Regions from separate parts of the Homo sapiens genome. Here region 1 is linked to region 2. The links are contacts of gene promoters, found by promoter capture Hi-C in blood cells and fetal thymus (Javierre and others, 2016). All regions are on one chromosome and are shown on one strand. The core of a region is centred on a gene start or on the middle of the fragment in contact, and the rest is flanking DNA. Distances in the headings are between cores, read along the strand shown. Region 1 has its middle 170 kb from the start of SH3BP4. Region 2 holds the start of TRPM8 (transient receptor potential cation channel subfamily M member 8).

The links. The method cuts DNA at HindIII sites, captures the fragments that hold promoters and counts their contacts. A CHiCAGO score of 5 or more calls a contact.
Region 1: a fragment that was not itself captured here is called in contact with the fragment with the promoter of TRPM8 in region 2 in 1 of 17 cell types (M1 macrophages); the score reaches 5.1 in M1 macrophages.

What each region holds. Positions count from the first base shown.
Region 1 is chr2:235,117,676-235,122,937 of GRCh38, forward strand. No RefSeq gene overlaps it. Among named protein-coding and RNA genes, the nearest start is that of SH3BP4, 170 kb to the left of the region's middle. The HindIII fragment of the contact is 1,569 bases long and covers 744-2,312 here.
Region 2 is chr2:233,914,179-233,919,783 of GRCh38, forward strand. TRPM8 (transient receptor potential cation channel subfamily M member 8) reads left to right here and starts at 3,195. Exons shown (of 26, transcript NM_024080.5): 1 at 3,195-3,254. The HindIII fragment of the contact is 1,520 bases long and covers 3,174-4,693 here.

The DNA of each region.
Region 1 (5,262 bases), core at 278-2,777, 1.2 Mb after region 2:
GTTAAGTGGTGGGACTGTGATCAAAATGTATTAATGGATTGAAAGTCAGGAAGCTGTCTCCTCGCTTGAAACTTAGTGGGCAACCACTAACGACTAAGGAATAGATTGAATGCCTGGGGATCAGTTTTACATGGGGAAGTGAATCACAGTTTCCTAGAGTAAATGGAATAACAAAAAAGAAATATCAAGGTGACTGAAAAAAAAAGCATAAAATCTGACACGTAATAAGTGCTATTTATTAAAAGGCAAAGGCTTCCATCTTCTATTAGAATACAAAACCACAATAGACTGCTGATTAAAAGAGAAGTTACAATTAAATAACATTAAAAGTTTATTCTATATGGAAAGCATGACAGGCAACGGTGAACAAAACAGATAAATGTTTGGATGGTTTGGCAAAGACGATAAGAAACAAAGTGGTAAGGTGGTAACTCTCCCTGCTATTATGGTCTCTGGAGTTTCTCCACTCCTATTTTTTCCAGGCTACCAAACTACTAGCGAGAGAAAGAAATTTTATGACAGCAATGGCTAGAAAAAATACTTGAGACAAAATTGGACATTTAAATTTATAGAAAGTGCCATCTACAGCTTTAAAAATACATAAAGCAAAAACTGAAATACAAGGAGTAATTAACAGAAGCATGAAAGCAGTAGAAGTATGTGTATATACAAATACACACGCACATACTCACAACGCCAACATTCTATATTCCAATCAGGCATGTAAAAAGTGAGGCCATAAAAGCTTTGTAAAATATCTCTAATTGAGACAAATCAAGTGTCTGCTTTCAGACATAATGGAGTGACTTAAATTGGACTAACTTTCATGCCAAGAAAAAATCCTATAAAAGCTGAATAAAATGTACAAAATGACTGTGTGAAGCAGTGGGCAGCAACTAATGTAGACAGTACTGAAAGGCACAATTGTGAGAGTGAGAGAAGGGAAGCACACAAGATAATTTCTTTTTTTTCTTTTCTGGTATTCTTTTTTTTTCTCTCTTTTTTTTATTATACTTTAAGTTCTAGGGTACATGTGCACAACGTGCAGGTTTGTTACATATGTATACATGTGCCATGTTGGTGTGCTGCACCCATTAACTTGTCATTTACATTAGGTATATCTCCTAATGCTATCCCTCCCCCCTCCCCCCACTCCACAACAGGCCCCGGTGTGTGATGTTCCCCTTCCTGTGTCCATGTGTTCTCATTGTTCAATTCCCACCTATGAGTGAGAACATGCGATGTTTGGTTTTTTGTCCTTGCAATAGTTTGCTGATAATGATAGTTTCCAGCTTCATCCATGTCCCTACAAAGGACATGAACTCATCATTTTTTATGGCTGCATAGTATTCCATGGTGTGTATGTGCCACACTTTCTTAATCCAGTCTATCATTGTTGGACATTTGGGTTGGTTCCAGGTCTTTGCTATTGCGAATAGTGCTCACACAAGATAATGTCTACATTAACCCTGGTTGTTTTCCCTGTGGGAATTTTTTTAAATCGTTGCATGAGGAATAGAGACCACCTCTAACAAAGCTGAAAATCAAGCCTCCATGGGACCCAAGGTGATTCACTGATAGAGAACTGCCTGACAGGAAGAAAAAAACTTTCTTTGAAGAAAAACATCATTATCGGAGCCTCTACAATTTTTATCTACAATGAGCAAAATAAAATATAAAAATTAAAGGTTATGGTAAAAAAGACAGGACCAAGAGAAACAAACGTTAAGAAAAATGTAAACATTATATATAGTCTCACAGGTGATTTAGATATTGGAGTTATCAAAGAGAAATTTTAAAAATTGATTAGCCATTCAAGAAAATAAAGGATGGCATGGAAAAACAAGAGAAAATATAGAGAATTTCAACATAATTGAATATATATGAACAAAGCAACTGGGCGGTCTAGAACTGAAAAATACAATATTTGAAATGAAGAATTCATTAGATGAATTTAACAGTACACTGGACATAACAGAAGATGGGGAGGAATAGAATTTATTCAAACTGAAGCAAAGAGAGAAAAATAATGGAATGAACAGTACAGAATATTGTGTACATATACAGAATATTGTGTCCCCAAAGGAGAAGAGGGAAAAGAGCATAAATAATATTTGAAGACAGAATGGCTAAGTATATGTTTTAAAATATAATGAAAGACAACAACCCACAGGTTCAAGAGTCTATGCAAACCCCAAGATAACTAGAATAGGCACATCTTAGTCAAGCTGCTGAAAACCAAAGACAAAATGAAAATCTTAAAAGCAGGCGGGAATAGTGGGAATACTTTACTTTCAAAGGATCAAGAATAAAGCTTACAGCTGACTGTACAACATACTCATGGGAGCAAGTGGAATGACATCTTTAAAGGGCTAGGTATCAGCCAAACTAAAATTTTATAAACATTGAAAATATTAATGAAAATAAAGCAAAATAAGGAATTTTTGACAAATGAAAGCTGAGAAAATTTGTATCCAGTAGACTTGCACTAAAAGAAATACTAAAGATGGAGAATATCTTCATGACTTTGATGTAAGAACCGATTTCTGAAATAGATTTTTAAAAAGACACTAAACCTAATGAACATAATTGATAAATTAAACATAAATTGATGATTGACATTAAGCATTTCTGTTTACCAAAATAGACCTTTAAAAGAATAAAAATGCAATACCAACAAATATAAATGTTTATATTTGTGAACCATGTACTTGACCAAAGGCTTATATTCAAGATCAATGAAAAGGAAAATGTGTAAAAAATTTGATCAGGAACTTTCCAAAAGAATCTAAGAAGAACTTCGACTTCATTAGCTACCAGAGAAATACAAATTTAAAACACAGTAAGAGACTACCATTTTATTAGCTAAATTCTTAAATACATTCTAGATGAGCTGAAATTAAAAGACTGACTTCATTAAGTGTTGATGAGGATGTGGAGTAATTCATGTGCACTATTAGTGGCAGTGTAAGTAAATTGATATAAGCACTTTGGAAATCTATTTAGTATTATTTATTAAAATTGAATATACACATATTTTATGGCCCATGCACAAATATACCAAAATATATGCGCAAAAGCATTCATAGCAACATTAAATGTAAAGCTAAAAATGCAAAACAATGCAAATATCCTTGAATAGTAGAATGAATATATAAATTATGGTATTGTCATACAGTGAAACACAATTATTCTCTTAATAAATTTAATCAAGTAGATAAAAGGAACAAATGAAATAAGAGATTTCGGAGGGGGGGCCAGATCCATTCTTGATAAAAACAAAGATTTTGTAAGCTAAGAACATACAGATACTTTTCTGTTTTACTTTTCTTTTTGGCACTTCAGTTGCAGAGATTTAAATTAGTTATTCTCTTCAGTTCAAGGTACAACATCACCATGATTTGTACAAGACTCCCTCTTGGCTTTTAATACATTCATTTTTTTCCCGCCTCCACATTCTCCAATTCTCTCCTCCTTAGTTCTTTCTTCAGATGGAGCTGCCCTAGAGGGTTTGATATGTGTCTTTGGAAAATAAGTTTGTGAATGTGTGTGTGTTGGCAGGGGGCGGGGTGGGGAGTGGTGGTGAAGTTAATTCACATAAAGTGTAAACGACATAGTTCCTTGCTTTACATTAAATGGTTCCTTATCTTTTCATTATATCTCTTAAGATCTCCCTATGTTACTGTTGCAATATCTGGTGTATTGTCACAAAGCCTGGCAGCTATTTCTTCACCTGCCTCAACTTCATTTTCTTATCTATTCCCCTAGCGATGAACACCTAGGTTGCCTCCAACTATCCCCAAATTACTGCGAAGGACATCCTTCTACTTGTCTCCACACGGACCTGTGTGAGAATCACTTTGGGATACGTATTTGCCAGTGTGATTGTGAAGTAACAGTGTGTGTGTGTGTGTGTGTGTGTGCGCGCGCGCGCGTGCAATTTCGCAAATCCTGGAAGATTGCTCTTCAGAATGGCTGCAACAATCTCTTTTATGAGGAGTCCTCCCATGCTTCTCTTTTTTCTGGCAAATATAGATATTATTCTACTTTGTCATAGTGATGAGATTAAAGTGATATCTTAATTTCCCTGGGTAGTACAATCTTGAACATCATTTTCATATTCTTGCTAGCTATTAGCATTTCCTCTCTATGTATTATTTGTTCATATTTGCCTGTTTTTCTATAGGGCTTCTGGTCTTCTTGTTTATTTACAGAAGAAACAAGATTGTAATTTCATGGCATTGATTCATTGTTAGTCATAGATGTTGCAAATATCGTTAACCAATCACTCATCTGTCTGTTGTTATTATCTATGTGGTACTTTACAGAACAGAAATCTTTAATTTTGATATAATCAAATAATAATTTCCCCCCTTATAATTGTACTACTTTGACTTTTTAAAGAACCGCTTACTTGCCTGGGTCCAAAGGGATTCCCCGCCTTGTTTTCTTCTTTTTTTAAGTAGGTTTATTGAGATATAATTGATATACAATAAATTACATCTATTTAATATACAATTTGATAAGTTTTAAAATACATATACACCCACAAAAGATCACCACAGTGAAGATAATGAACCTATCCATCACTCCCCAAAATTTACTCAAGACCCTATAATCCATCTCTTTCTCTCACTCATTTCCAGTCCCAGAAATTACGCATTTTTTTGTCTCTATAAATTAGTTTGAATTTTCTGGAATTGTATATAAGTGGAAGCACAAGAATATATTGTTTTTGGTCTGGCTTCTTTCCTTCAGCATAATTATTTTGAATTTTATCCATGTTGTGTGTTAACTCATTCTTTTGTGTTATTGAGTGGTGTTGCCTTGCGTACATAGGCCACGATTTTATCCATTTACTTCTTTTTGTTGGACATTTGGGTTATTTCAAGTTTTGGATTAGTATAAACAATAATAATTTATAACATATTTATAATTTTAAATTTATAACAGTATAAGTAATAATACTTGTACTTTGTGCATAAGTCTTTGTATGGATGTGTTTCCAGTTTTCATGGATAAAAGCCATGTATGGTAAAAGTCAGTATGGTAAGTGGATAGTTAATATTTAAGAAATTGCTATACTGTTTCGACGTGGTTGAGCCACTTTACATTCCCATCAATAGTGCATGAAAGTTCCAGTTACTTTGCATCTTTACCAACACTTGGTATTGTCATTTATCTATCATCTATCTATCTATCTATCTATCTATATCTATCTATCTATATCGATGACATTCTAATACTTGTGTCGTGGTACCT
Region 2 (5,605 bases), core at 1,945-4,444:
GGAAGGACCAGGGTCTTGGCAACAGATTCATTGCATATTTGCGCCTCTGGTGCCATGGTAACCTTTCTTCTTCCTGATGACCTACACCTATATTAAAGTTTATAAAACAGTGGCTGGATGGTTGGAGGATGCAGGTGGACAGAAGACGTGGAGCCTGCAGAAGTAAAGGGTAAGTTGTTAATTCTCCTGGAAAAGGTGAGATCTTGTGTCTCTTACCAGGAGAGGCCAAGAGACAGGGTTATGGGTAGCACCCACTGCACCCTTTGCACAATGGGAGGAAGGATGTATGACTTGATGTGCCTCCCAGTTGTGTGTTCATCAGCTGCAATCTGCTCTTCTCAGGAGTTAGTGTCAGGGAGTGTCTGTGCCTCCTGTACAAGGCTTATTGTAAAAGACACCTGATGTCCTTGAGTGACCAGAGTTCTAACTTGGGAGTATGTGCCCACCTCCATCAGTTGCTACCAGTGTGTCAAATTCTCTTCTACACTTGGCTAGGGCTAAGATTTAGTGAGAGGAGCAGAATGAGCCCTGCCGGTCCTCCTTTTTCTAGTAGTAGGAAGCAGCCTCTTCTTTGCAGTGTGAGCCAGTGGCCCCTGGACCCTCAACTAGTACCTGAGGCTTCTCTCCTCATCAAGGCCTCAGGGGGAGGCCTGAGCTCCTGCCAAGAAGGTAAGATCAGGACCCAACCAGAACTCCAGCTTCCTGCATACAGTCAAGAGAGGGAGGCAGGCTCATGGGTGGCTGCGGTGCAGCCTCCACAGGACTCTTCATGGGGGAAGACTCTTCATGGAATGCCTGGGGTGGGAGGCCTTCCACACTGACCAGAGAGCCTTGTCCCTTCCACCAGCTCCAGTACAGCAAACTCAGCCAGAGAGTGCAGTGCAGAGTCAGTGGCATCAATGCATTCACATTGCTCTGTAACCATCATCATCATCCACCTACAGTTTGTTCAGTTTTAATGTTTTCTCATGGCACAAAAAATAGGGAAGCCAAGCTGAGAGTCTGAGTCTGCATATCTAGCTGGAAGTATGCAGAATGGCTCTGCTTATCTTAGTGGGGGAGGAAGGTGTTCAGGGACAAGCAGGGACAGTGCTGTTAATTCACCTTTGAAACCTGCTTTGAGGAGTAAGTGGCTGAAAAACGTCTGTGTGTGACTGAGGTTGCTCAGGGCAGCCACCTTCTGGCATTAAAAGATAGTTCAACAATCCAGCATCTTAAAAAAAAAACCAAAACAATTTCTATCTATCTTGCTAGATGAATTGGGCATTTTGTTGCGTCTTGGATGAAATGGTAAATATTTACATTATATATGTACACCTCTACTTATATCTCTCTATCTCCATCTCTCTCGCTCCCATTTCATGAGGATGCTTACTTACAGCAAGGATCCATTCACGTATGATTTTAAGGACTTGCTAAAGATATTTGAATACAACTTGTTCAGGCCAGATCATACATTATCTGCTGTGGATAAAACAAGTTTGGATTTACAATGAAAATTGAGATAGAACAAAAGACTTGCTTAATAACCAGAAAATGAATGAGAGAAGTCCACATGAGCTTAATTAATTGGCTCAATATTTCTCTCTCTCTCTCTCTCTCTCTCTCTCTCTCTCTCTCTCTTTTCTTGAGACAGAATCTCACTCTGTCACCCAGGTTGGAGTGCAGTGGCATGATCTCGGCTCACTGCAACCTCCACCTCCCAGGTTCAAGGGATTCTCATGTCTCAGCCTCCTGAGTAGCTGGGATTACAGGCACGTGCCACCACACCTGGCTAATTTTTGTATTTTTAGTAGAGACAGGGTTTTGCCATGTTGCCCAGGCTGGTCTTGAACCCCTGACATCAAGCAATCGGCCCGCCTCAGCCTCCCAAAGTGCTGGGATTACAGGCATGAGCCACTGCACCCAGCTGGCTCAATATTTCTAACAGCTAAAAAGCTCATTTTGCTGCTCCGCTCCTCAGATGGACTTGCTCCCCTGTGCAGTGCTATATATGTGCTTGGGGACCATGCTGGGTATGGGAGTTTTTAGTCCTAGGACCCATATTTAGAGTAATTCTGAGATTTCTCTGATTCTCTCTCTCTATTTCTAGCTGGATCTCTTCTCTCACGGGTCCTCATTCAAATCTATCATTTCCAGTTTTCCACAGCCCCCACCCTTCCCTACTTACTACCTAACACTTGGCTGCTCCCTTCATCTTTATGACCTGTCTGAGCCTTGGAATATTTGAGTTTGAGACCTCTGTCTGGAGTCTTTTGTCTCTCTTTGTTAAGGGGGTTTTCTTCTTGAATTGAACATGCTTTCTGCAGGAGTTATCACTACAACCCTATCCTTCCTTTCAGACCTTGCTCAAATCTCTCTGCCTTTGCAAAAAACCCCTTCACACTCCTTCTCTTTCATCTCTAACCTTTTTGCAAGTGTATGTCTTGTGCAATCAGTTCCTGAAATACACTATCCTATTTGTATTTCTCTATGACATATGCTTCATATGAAAATAAAATAGAAATAATGGCCAAAACAGAGGAACATTAGTTATAATATAACTGTTATGTTTGTGGCACGTGATTTAAGTAAAATGACCGAAAGTTGCCCACTGACAATTGTTACTTATTTCTTCGAGGAGAGCTCTTCCAAAGTGTAGTTTAAAGGGGACAGGAAATAGCTGTAAATTAATGAAGCTGGATTTGCTCACCTCCATGATGCCCTCTTGCCTGGCCCAATACTGCATTTAGTTGGTATGAGGAAAGTTCACAAAATCTGCAAAAAAGCAATGTTGGTTAAATTTCCTCTATTTAATAATTTTTTTCCTAATCTTAATTAAGAGCTTTTAATTTATTAATTAATCTTGTCATCACTTTCTATAATGAGCATTTCCCATTTTATTTGTGGTTTTTAAAATGTGCCATTAATTGCAGAAATTAAGTATTAGTATGATTTCATACTATGGTGTTATTGTCAAGCTAAGAGCAGGAATTTGGTATCATTTCTTTATTAGCATTTAAAATACCATGTTCACTAATTATCCATTCCCTACTCGTATTCCACTGCTAAATTGCTGCTATGCTTGGAGGCTTTAGGAGTCTTCTTGCAATTTCAGCGGCTTAAGTTTTTTGTTCCTCTGCTTAAAAGAACCTCAGAGAAGAAGGCGGGGCTAAGAAGATTCCAGTTATAAAAGCTTTCCTCCTCCTGTGGGGAGAGACCAGCAGGATCCTTGGGTGAAAGAAAATCCTGCTTGACAAAAACCGTCACTTAGGGTATGTCATCAACTTTTGCTTTTTGCTTCTCCTTAAATGTTGCCATTGCTGTAACTTGTAGAATAGTACGAGTTTGTGTCTCTGGGAGGGGCATCATTTAGTTTTTCTATGAAGATTTGAAACTAAAGGAAGACAAAAATTTAAATTCCTCAAAGTGTTGTGGGCATAAGCAAATGCGGGTTCACAGATATATCTAATCCTCACTTAGATTTATTTAGAAATGTAGAATTATTTGCTGAATTTTTGAATGACTTTAAATATAATTACAGTTTTCTGTTTCTGATTGAAGGAGTTAGAAACTCCCTAAATGAGCTTTAATGAAAAATTCACTGGCATCTGAACTCTGCAACTGACTATCTGAAGCAATCCTATTGGGAACATAATAAAACAAGTTTTTTCTTGAATCAAGACTATGGTGAAATGTAAATTAACATCAAGAAATAATGCATTCAAATAGTAAATATTCTTTGATAATGAAAGGAGCGGGTATATTTAGCTTGTTTTTACATACTGTGTTTCCTTCCGTTCTTCCAGCCTGTTGAAACAGGCTCATCATTTGTATTATTTATAAGCAAGAGAGAAACACTGAAGGGCTGGATGAATAATTAAAGGTTTTATTTCCATTTAATTTTCAATCCATTATTGCCAGTGCTGACTTTTTCAGTGTTAGGATTCTTGAGCTGAACATAAGGAAATGGTTATTCCTTAAGACTATTCTATATGTGCTAATACAAAGATACTGATCATGAGAGAAGTTTTAGCTTGTCAAAATCTTGACAGTGCAAAGGACTTACTTCCAAGGTTGTGACTTTGGATGCATATTTATTTATAATTTGGAAAAAAGCTGTTTATTATTATTTATTAATAAGATATTTATAATTATATTACAAATAATATAATTGTTATAGAAATAATATAATTACATTATAAATTATAATTACATTACAATTTATAATAATAATTATCACTATCTTTGTTTTGCCTAAGAACTGATATCATTCTTGGCACCTGTGAAGACAGTAGGGGTCCAGGCTGCATAGGGACCCCTGCTTTTCCTCTTATTCTAAGAGGGTCTCAGCAAATAGCATCTTGGAGCATCACCTGCTGCCTGTATCTACCTCCTGTTTCTCACTTCTACTTTTTGGAGCAGGATACCTTGGGGTCAATGACTTCGGGAGCCTCCACTGGCTTTTGCTATTTTCCTAGTTTTCATCCATCTATTCAAACTGAAAAAAATTTGGCTGATAGAGGCAATTAGAAAAACAGGATAATGCCTACAACAAAATAAATCTCAGCTCTCTCCTGGTGGTGACTGAGACATGGAGGCACAGATGCCTAGTGACCTTTTCAGGTATTGTAACCCTTGTATGCACCCCTGCCATGCCCCTGCCAAAATAAGAGTGGAGGAGATCTCTCTGGATGGTGTCATTTATATTTGAAGCTTCTGCAAGTGTTATACTCACCATTTTCATGAATAATTGATGGCTCAAAGAGTGGAGATGGCTGGGGTTTGGTGTGGGGCCCTTTGGAGCATTTTCCTTAGAGTATGAACAAGTTTTTCCTCTCTCATTCAGTGTGCAAAGGAAAACATCTTGTTTCTCCCCCCACCCCATTTTTTTTTTAATCAGAAAGAGACTTAGAACTAGACAATCCTGATTGAAAATGACACTTTAGGACTGATTTGACCATGGTGATAGGTGAGCTAAAAAGCAACTTATAAAACATGCCAGAAGCCTTTTTTTATTAGGATAATAAGAGCACACTAATATTTTTTTTGTATTGAGTTCAAAGGATGCATGAATATTCTGTTGTTCATGAGTGACTTCTAGACTATTTAAAATTATTCATGACCATTGATAATAAAAATAGTACCACGGCCAACCTCTCCCCTCAGCAAACAACATGAGGTTTGTAACCCTTTGTTTAAATTTTGGCAGTGTACTAATGTTGTTAAGATGACAATCTATTTCTTCTCAAAGCTGTATTAAAGTGGCACAAATTAGCTTAATGTTTAAGATTGGGTCTCAGGCCAGCCTGCTTGATTTTGAATTCTGCATCCTCTACTTATTAGCTGTGTGACTTTGGGAAAGTTACCTAACCTCTCTGTGCCTTGGTTTGTCATCCATCTAAAGGAGAAAATAATAATCCATATAACTCATGGGGAGATGGATCCATGTAAATACTCTTTAACGTATCCATGTAAAGAGTATTTACATGGATCCATCTTGCCATGTGTTATATGGATTATTATTTTATTACAAGTACAGTGCCTGGCACATAATAGACATGACACAATACATAACAGTTATTTATTACTGACATTTGGATGGTGTTCCTGGTCTGATGGAGAT